2 separate regions of the Homo sapiens genome follow, and region 2 is linked to region 1. The links are contacts of gene promoters, found by promoter capture Hi-C in human tissues and cell types (Jung and others, 2019). All regions are on one chromosome and are shown on one strand. The core of a region is centred on a gene start or on the middle of the fragment in contact, and the rest is flanking DNA. Distances in the headings are between cores, read along the strand shown.

Region 1 (4,358 bases), core at 1,053-3,552:
TTCTGTGGCAAACGTTCCTGTCTAGCCGAGACGACCTTTGGGGGAGCGGGGGGTGCTTTCTTGTGGGTCGGGGAGGGATGTGTGTCTCCTGGAAACTGGATAAAGTCTCCCCGCCCCCCAAGCTTGTCTGAAAAAGGGTAAAGTTTTGAAAAAGTTCTCCCAGAGAGCCCCCTGCCTTGGCAGGAGGAGGAGGAATGAGGAGTTGTGGGGAGAGGGTGCCTTTGGGGTTGCCTCCGGCAGAGGCGCTGAAAAGAGGGAAAGAAAGGCCGTCAGGTCCTGCCAGGGGCTTGGCAGCGCTCACCTATTTGTATTGGGACTTGGAGTCTGGGGTGGGGTGGTGTGGGTCCCGGATCTGGGTACGTTGGGGAGAGAAGCGTGAAAGGATCCGAGGTTGAGATGGGTCTTTGTGTCAACCCGGCCTCCCCTTTCCCTCTTGGCTTTCTGAATAGACCAGAAGAGACGTCAGAGGCTGCTTACATTTTACAACTGAAATGAAAACCCACCTCCCCTCTCCCCCTGGGCAATTTTTATCTCCCTTTCAGCCCTCCAAGTCGAATGAGTGACCCAGATACACCCCCTCAGATGACTTTCGGAGGTAAAACTTCGGGAAATTATTTTTAGCACACTCATTATTTCTGTCTACCTAAGTGTGGGGAAAAGAACCCTCCTCTAAGGAAATTTGTTCAGGCTGCCCTCGCTCTTCCTTGTCTAGAGTATGCATTTGTGCACAGGAGAGATTTCCATTGTTTTCCATTCCGACTGCTTTGATTCTCACCATTTTGTTTTACATTCTTACTCAAGACCAATTTTATCCCTTCCCCCTCTCTCCAGTCTCCTTACATTGTTAAACGTTTAAAATAATAGCAGTCGTGTTGGTGGGGGAAGGGAGCAGGAAGCCAAAAACTCATTTCTTCTCCCTCCCCCTTCTGGCAAGTCGAGAGAAATAATATAACATAATATATAGATGTGATTCCTTGGGGGTGGGGGTGGGGAATGATTGTGGGTGGTGCGGAAAATTCTGGTAGTTTCTTTGCAAAAGGTCTGAAAATACAAACCCACCCCCTGCCTGCAGTACGCATGTGCAGCAGACCTATTATGGTGGTGCGTTGTGGGGGAGGGAGGGGAATTTGAGAAAAAATAAATATATGTGTGAGAGATTGATGGTGAGATTAGAAGAAGAGAGGGGCGGGCGGGAGGCGAGGCTTCGGCCGAGACTCCTCCCGCTTGCTCGGGCGGCCAGGCTCCGCCCTGCGCCCTCCGGCCCCCGCCTCTCTCCTCCCTGCCTCCCTGAGATCCGAGCCGGGGATGTGGGAGAGTCTGGGCTCCAGGCCAGCATTGAGTGGCTGCTGAGACCGAGGTTGGGACTTAGATTTGCTTTATTACCCTTCCTTGCTTTTCCTTGCCGTTCTCGCTTTGCCTCTCCCGCCACCGACGCCTGCCCAAGTTCGGGAACCTCCCGCTGGGGTGGGGAGTAGAGTGAACCGGCTTGTGCACCACCCCTGGCTGGTGGTGGCCGAGGCCGTGTCCCTGAACCTTAGCCAGTTGGCCTGCCCTTGCCACTGCCTCGGCAGCCTGCGTTTCCATGTTCAAGTCAACCGAAGTCCCTGGGGCCAGGGGGAGCCGGCTGCTGGGGCATGGCGCCTTCCTTGCTGACTTCCTATTACAGTCCCCATTCCGTTTCACACCCGGGCTCTGGCAGCCACCCCCCTGCACACACGCACACAGTCCTAGAGTGTCTTCCTGCACAAGGGGACACAGGATGCTGGAGTTAGCAGGAAAGGTGGCACTGAAGGAAGGCGAGGCAGCGACTCTGAGGCAGTGGAAACGGAGGCCTCTGGTGTTAATTGTGGCTAATTTTCCGTTGGCTGTTGAGGGAAGGAGAAAGGATTGTGTGTCCTAGAGCTAGGGGCTGGGCCAAGCCCAGGCTTTCCCATCTTGCATCGGCTGCCTCTCTCTGTACTAGACAGGTCTGGCTGGTTAGTCTAGTGCTTGGTAGGGGAGGGACGTGAACCAGAGCCCCAGGGCCCCAGGTCTGTGGGGCATCCTGTCTTCCTTTATGTGGGGTAACTCTCCGTTCCGTTCCCCAAGCCTTCACAGAGTGACACCTTCACAGATAATGGGGTGGGGGGCCTGGGGTCCTCTGGCAGAGACATCTGGGGAGAAAGCCAGGGACCTATCCCTGCTGAAGCAGGTACAGGCCATCCTCTGGATTTGTGGGCCTGAGAGTGTGTGTGGGTGTGGGTGCGCGCGTGCGCGCGCGTGCTTTTGAGAAGGCATATGCTGGGTGTGTCTGTCTGTGCCTATATCTTTGTTTGGGTCTCCCATACTGCGTATAGATGAATGGGTCAGGATATCTGGAACAAAATATGGAGGTGAAGGGTGAGATCGGGAAACAAAGGGTATGGCCCCCTAGTTCCCAAAGGGAGCAGGGAGATGGGAATAGAATTGAAGGTAGGTTTTAGGCTACTTGGGAGGAGGAATATTTAGGTAATTGTGGAGACTTTCTCCTGTGTGATGAAGGCGGCAGACACTGTGATCCTGTGGGCAAGAAGTAAAAATGACCAGCTGAGGATTTCTTTTCCTCCAGGACTGTGTTGGGGTGACAGGATGCCTGGTAATTATCCGAGGAAATGTAAATAGAGGCCTCCCTCTTGGCAAAAGGATGTCAGGGCCCCAGGGTGTTAGTGTGAGAACCCAGGTGTCCACCTTTGGCTCTCCCTCCCCAGCATCTGGCTTAGGGAGCTGCCAGCTTGTGTCTCCCCACTCCAAGTGCTGGGGTCAGGCCAGGCCAGCAGCTGGGCATGGCTTCCCCAGTTCCTGGGCAGGATGCCAGCTGGCGAAGTGAGGGGGAAGGCAGGAGGAGCCCTGGCGGTGACTGAAAGGACCTGCCACAGTCAGAGCCCATGGCCTGGAGCCTGGTCTCTTGTTAGTAGGAGGGGAGGGAGGGGAGTGGTTTGGCTGCTCTTCTCTTCTGACCCCTGACCTCCCATTCAGAACCAGAGCATCCCAGAGTACTCGAAACACTTTCTGTTTGCATCCAGTGAAGGGAGGCAGGGCTTGGAGGAGTTAATGCTTCCTAGAGAGTGGGAACTGCCGAGGTGGGGAAGGGGCAAGTTGAGGGGCCTCAGAGGCTGGAAACCTAGAGGCTTAGGTTTTCTGATGCTTTTTGCTTCAAAGATAAGGATGACATTCGGCTGCTGCCGTCAGCATTGGGTGTGAAGAAGAGAAAACGAGGACCCAAGAAGCAGAAGGAGAACAAGCCAGGAAAACCCCGAAAACGCAAGAAGCGTGTAAGTGTCAAGAATTCCTAACTCTGTGGCAAGGCTCAAGAGACCCATTCTCAGAGACCTACATTTTCTCTGGTCCTGATTACTGGTGTGGGGGTGGGGTTCTGAAGCCAGGGAGGCTTGATCCCCCGGGCCCCCCACTTCCCTGCCACTGTTGGCCTGTATCTCAGGGATCTGGGACCCTAACTTCATTCACTGCAACCTAGTGAAGAGCCTCGTTGTCAGTGTGTCCTCAGCAGCAAAGAGAAGCAGTTGAAAGCACAAGCTCTGGAAGACTGTATGAATTCAAGAGTCCAGCATTCCTCTGTCTAGGATACCAGGCCGTTTATTTGGCTCTCTGTGCCTTAGTTTCCTCATCTGTAAAAAGTAGATAAAGGCCGGTTGCAGTGGCTCACGCCTGTAATCCCAGCACTTTGGGAGGCTGAGCCGGGTAGATCATTTGAGGTCAGGAGTTCGCGACAAGCCTGGCCAATGTGGTGAAACTCCGTCTCTACTAAAAATACAAAAATCAGCCGGGCGCGGTGGTACGTCTGTAATCCCAGCTACACAGGAGGCTGAGGCAGGAGAATCGCTTGAACCCGGGAGGTGGAGGTTGCAGTGAGCCGAGATCACGTCAGTGCACTCCAGCATGGGTGACAGAGCAAGACTCCATCTCCAAAAAAAAAAAGGAGATAAAAAATTAGTTACTATCACAGGATTGTTGTGAAGATTAAAAGAGGTAAGATATGGTATGTGCTGAGAACAGTTTCTGGCAATGGTAGGGATGAATAAATGTTATTTTTATTTCTTTCTCTTAGGACAGTGAGGAGGAATTTGGTTCTGAGCGAGATGAGTACCGGGAGAAGTCAGAGAGTGGGGGCAGTGAATATGGAACCGGACCGGGTCGGAAACGAAGAAGGAAGCACCGAGAAAAAAAGGAGAAGAAGACAAAGCGGCGGAAAAAGGGGGAGGGAGATGGGGGGCAAAAGGTGAGTAGAATTAGGGAATGAGAGTGAGAAATCTGCATTAAAGACGGGCATGAGGAGGGGAGGAATGGAGACTGGACTGGAGAATGGGGCAAGAAGCAAGAAA
Region 2 (4,358 bases), core at 883-3,382, 410 kb before region 1:
TTCCCCCACGTACACACATCCTTCCAGTGGGGCCGGGCACAGTAGACAGTGGTGTGCAGGCTTGGAATGCACTTGCACACACACCCCTAGAAGGGCCCAGTCCCCAAAGGTGAGGAAAACCTGTTCTGAGGAATCTGCCTAGTGAGCGAATTCTGTTCTGAGGCCCTTCCACCGTCGCAGGAGTGGGGCCCAGTGTGCGTCAGAGATACCCACAAGGGGGGCAGAGAGAGGGAGAGGGTGAAGCAGGAGGAGGCTGAAAACTTCACGTTTCTTTTTTCCATTTTAGTGACAAGAGTCACACCCAGCCTTTACATAAACATGGCCAAGGAGCCTCTCTGTCTAAGCTTACTTCCCTTGTGGCCGCCCAGCCTCTCCTCCGGGTGACCCTGACACGCTGGGCAGGCTCATGAGGGGCAAACATACAGACCCTGCAAAGATTAGCTGGGCCATCTGACAACACCCATGCCTCCCGCCGGCCTCCATGCGCTACCCTGCATTTATCTCCCGCCTTCCTCATACCAAATCCCCTCCGCAGCCCCACCGCCACTTAAGCACACAGACGGCAGGCACGCACACACAGCCTGCTTGCGGCTGGCCTCTTGGGTCTGAGGCCCACACTGCCCTTGTCACGCCACCTCCCTCCCCACATGTGTTTTCTGACCAGTTTGCCTCCCAGCTCAGCAGCCCAGACAGGCTCCTACAAACAACGTCACAAAAGAATCCTGTGGAGAATGTTGCAAACACACAACCTTCCCCTCGCTTGGCTGCCCATGATCCCATAAACACAACTGGCGCATTCCACCTCGAGCCCCTCACACCAGTGCCAACTGACCCACAGGCCCCTGAGACATACCCCGGGGTTCCTCGCTCCTCTCATGATCTTTGGGATCTGAGTTCTAGACGCGCAGCCCCCATGCAACGCGCTCATCACAGACACGCAAACCCATCCATCGCCCTCTTCACCACTGGACCACACCTCAGCAGGGCCACAGAAATGGGACCCAGACGTGACGCCTTCTGACTCAAAGGCCCACAACCGCCCCCTCCAAAAGGGCACATACACTGCATCCTGGCACCCTCCGCAACACATACAGCATGCCAGCTCTGCAGAAAACAGTTCATAAACAGGTCATAGGTGCAGCACAAGACACACATGCGAGAAAACACATGCTGTAGAAAACATACAGCCCCACATCGAACAAACTCTGCACCCAGCATGCTGTGCCCTGCTCAGAATACCCATCTGTCACCCAAAGCCACAGGGCTCGTCTTGTAACTCTGCCCCACAACACTGGACACCCTTCCTGGCTTTCTATCTCCATGGCCCAGGGAGGGCCCTACCCAGACCCCTGGCTGCCAGCAAACGGTGGTGCCCAGGAGAGGTTTACCTTGCCCCACCACACAGCACAAGACACACGATCTCCAAGACTCACAGCCACAACCCTGCCCCGACGGCGCGGCGGTTCCGGGGCCCCAGCTCGCCCTGCGCACCCCGCACACCCCAACTCTGGGGCGCTCGGCGGCCCACCCCTCCCCCTCTCTGCCTGGCTCCTACGCCATCACCCTCCCAGCAGCTTGCAGCGCTTGCCCGGGCTCACACCCGCCCCACCCCACCCCCAATCTGCCCCACGGGGGGAGGGGGCCATTAGGCTGCAGAATTAACCCTTCAAAGAGGGAGTGAGCACCTCCCCTTCCACGGCCCCAGGCGATCGCGTCCCACGGCCGCCCCTCGCTCGGACGCCATACCAGGGCCCCCTTAGTCGCCCCCCAGCGTCGTGCGCGCCCGGGGGCGGGGCCAGGCTCAGCCCCCGACCCCTGCGCCCCCAGGTCAACCCCAAAGGAGAGCGGTCTGGGCGCGGGGCGCGGTCGGGGCTCCCGCAGCGCCGGGCAGCGGAGAGGGGGCCTGGCAGTTGGCTCCGGTCCGCCCTGGCCCTGCCCAGTTCGCCCCAGGGCCCACCTGACTGCGATGGCGCCGCGTCCGCCAGGCCCGGCTCATCACCGTGGCCGCCCCCGGCCGCTCCGGTTTTGCCCGCCTCCAGCTCCGGCTCCGGCTCCAGCTCCGGCCCTGGCCCCCCCAGCGCCTGGCCCCGGCCCGGCCCCGCTGCCGCCGCCGCCGCCGCCGCTGACATCATCGGCTCCCCCCGCCCCGGTCCTACCCCCACCCCCACCCCCGGAAACAGTCCCCCCCCAGCGCCGCCGCCGCCGCCGCCGAGAGGAGGCCGGCGCAGCGCAGCCGACACCGACACAAAGCTCCGAGCGCCCGACGGCCTTCCCCAGGACTGACCCCCGCGGCATGACACTGCGCCGCGCTGGGCCACCGGGCGGGTGGACACCGAGCGGGGCGCGGGCCGGGCTGCAGCATCCCGGCAGGGGCGCAAGACCACCGACCCCCAGGGAAAGGGCTCCCTCCGCCCTTCCTCCTGCACGCCCTTCACTCAGCGGTGCACACTGCCTGAAAGCATAACACACAGGCTCTCAGGGTGCAGACATGACATGGCAGACTCATAATCAGGCCCGGTGGGACTCACAGACCCAGGGTCGGCACACTCAAAGAGGGCCAGCCCTGGACACACACACACACCCTCTCCAGGAATGCGCAGGAAAGCTCAGCAGGCCGCGGAAAAAGAAGGCCCTGGCCCTGCATACGGGGCACACACGAACGACCACCAGCGCAAATGAACACATGAAGCTGGCTGGGTACTTTGTCCCCACCAGCAGATAGATCCACATCTGTATACTTGAACATAAATGCAGAGGCCTTGGTGTCGGCCTCTGGGGACAGCATCAACAAAACACCAGGTGGAAGCACACACAGAAAAAACACATTCCTGAAACTCCACAGGGACAATCCCAAGAACTCCTCCCTGGTGCTGGAAAATTAAAAACTAAGGAGATGGAGGAGCCAGGGTTCACAGCTCCTTGCCTTAAAACCTCTCTGAGGCTGGGCGCGGTGGCTCACGCCTGTAATCCCAGCACTTTGGGAGGCCGAGGTGGGCGGATCACGAGGTCAGGAGATCGAGACCATCCTGGCTAACACGGTGAAACCCTGTCTCTACTAAAAATACAAAAAAATTAGCCGGGCGTGGTGGCGGGCGCCTGTGGTCCCAGCTACTCGGGAGGCTGAGGCAGGAGAATGGCGTGAACCTGGGAGGCGGAGCTTGCAGTGAGCCGAGATCTCGCCACTGCACTCCAGCCTGGGCGACAGAGACAGACTCCGTCTCAAAAAAAAAACAACAACAAAAAAACCTCTCTGAAACCATGCAAGATATAAATAAACAAATTAATGTAAAGCCACAGAGCTAGCCATAAAAAGAATAAAAGAATCAGACAAACTTTGGAGTCATGGAGACATAAATAGAAAAGAAGCAGAGTTGGGCTGGGCACGGTGGCTCATGCCTGTAATTCCACCACTTTGGGAGGCGGGGGGTGGTGGGGTGGATCACTTGAGGTAAGGAGTTCAAGACCAGCATGGCCAACATGGAGAAACCCCATCTCTACGAAAAATAAAAAATTAGCGGGGTGTGGTGGCACATGCCTGTAATCCCAGGTACTTGGGAGGATGAGGTAGGAGAATTGCTTGAACCCAGGAGGTGGAGGTTGCGGTGAGCCGAGATTGCACGCACCACTGCACTCCAGCCTGGGCAAGAAGAGCAAAACTCCGTCCCAAAAAAAAAAAAAAAAATTAGCCAGGTGTAGTGGCACATTCTTGTAATCCCAGCTACTTGGGAGGCTGAGGCAGGAGAATCGCTTGAATCTGGGAGGTGGAGGTTGCAGTGAGATGAGATCACACCATTGCACTCCAGCCTGGATAACAAGAGTGGAAACTTCGTCGCAAACAAAAAAAGAAAGAAAGAAAGAAAAGAAGCAGAGTTGGACTCAGCGGGAAAATAGGCGTGCTACCACCTCAGGAGAGTTCCAGGGAAGAACCCCACCCCCACTCCAACCATGTCACAATGGCTGGAGCTCTGAGGGGCCCAGGCTCCCTGAGCCAGGAGGAGAGGAGAAAGTCCAAGGAAAGATGGTGAGTGTGGGGGCCAGGGGCCTAGTACTCCCTCCCTATAGCTCCTGGTTGCTCCATTTCCCCTCCTTTCCTAAAACTTAGCTGTCTCAGAGATACCCACAAATAGAATTCATAATGGTGTACCCAGATGTCTCTGGAACCTGTGGCATCATACAGATGCATAGCATCTGAGGCTTCCTCCCCTTCCTCAATCCGAGAGAGCATCCTGGGTCCTTTTTCTCCTCCCAGGAACAACTTACCCAGGGAAACGATGCTCCAGGACTGCTCACTCCTTGCTTCCTGCTCCAGGCCCACATTATAACATCTCACTCATCTTTTAGGCCCTTTCTAGCTCCGA

What was found. Contacts are between HindIII fragments. The study calls those that stand out against the background at their distance.
Region 2: a contact is called between the fragment with the promoter of ZBTB4 here and the fragment with the promoter of CHD3 in region 1, in 1 of the 25 tissues and cell types used here (heart left ventricle).

The regions. Positions count from the first base shown.
Region 1 is chr17:7,886,487-7,890,844 of GRCh38, forward strand. CHD3 (chromodomain helicase DNA binding protein 3) reads left to right here and starts at 2,303. Exons shown (of 40, transcript NM_001005273.3): 1 at 2,303-2,614; 2 at 3,178-3,290; 3 at 4,085-4,255. The coding sequence starts at 2,515. RefSeq lists a silencer at 1,166-1,325 and an enhancer at 2,735-3,304. The HindIII fragment of the contact is 8,044 bases long and covers 1-3,748 here.
Region 2 is chr17:7,477,499-7,481,856 of GRCh38, forward strand. It overlaps ZBTB4 (zinc finger and BTB domain containing 4), which reads right to left and starts at 2,133. Exons shown (of 4, transcript NM_001128833.2): 1 at 1,958-2,133. It overlaps SLC35G6 (solute carrier family 35 member G6), which reads left to right and starts at 3,948. Exons shown (of 2, transcript NM_001102614.2): 1 at 3,948-4,021. The coding sequence starts at 4,019. RefSeq lists silencers at 1,440-1,489, 1,750-2,209, 2,230-2,489. The HindIII fragment of the contact is 10,425 bases long and covers 1-4,358 here.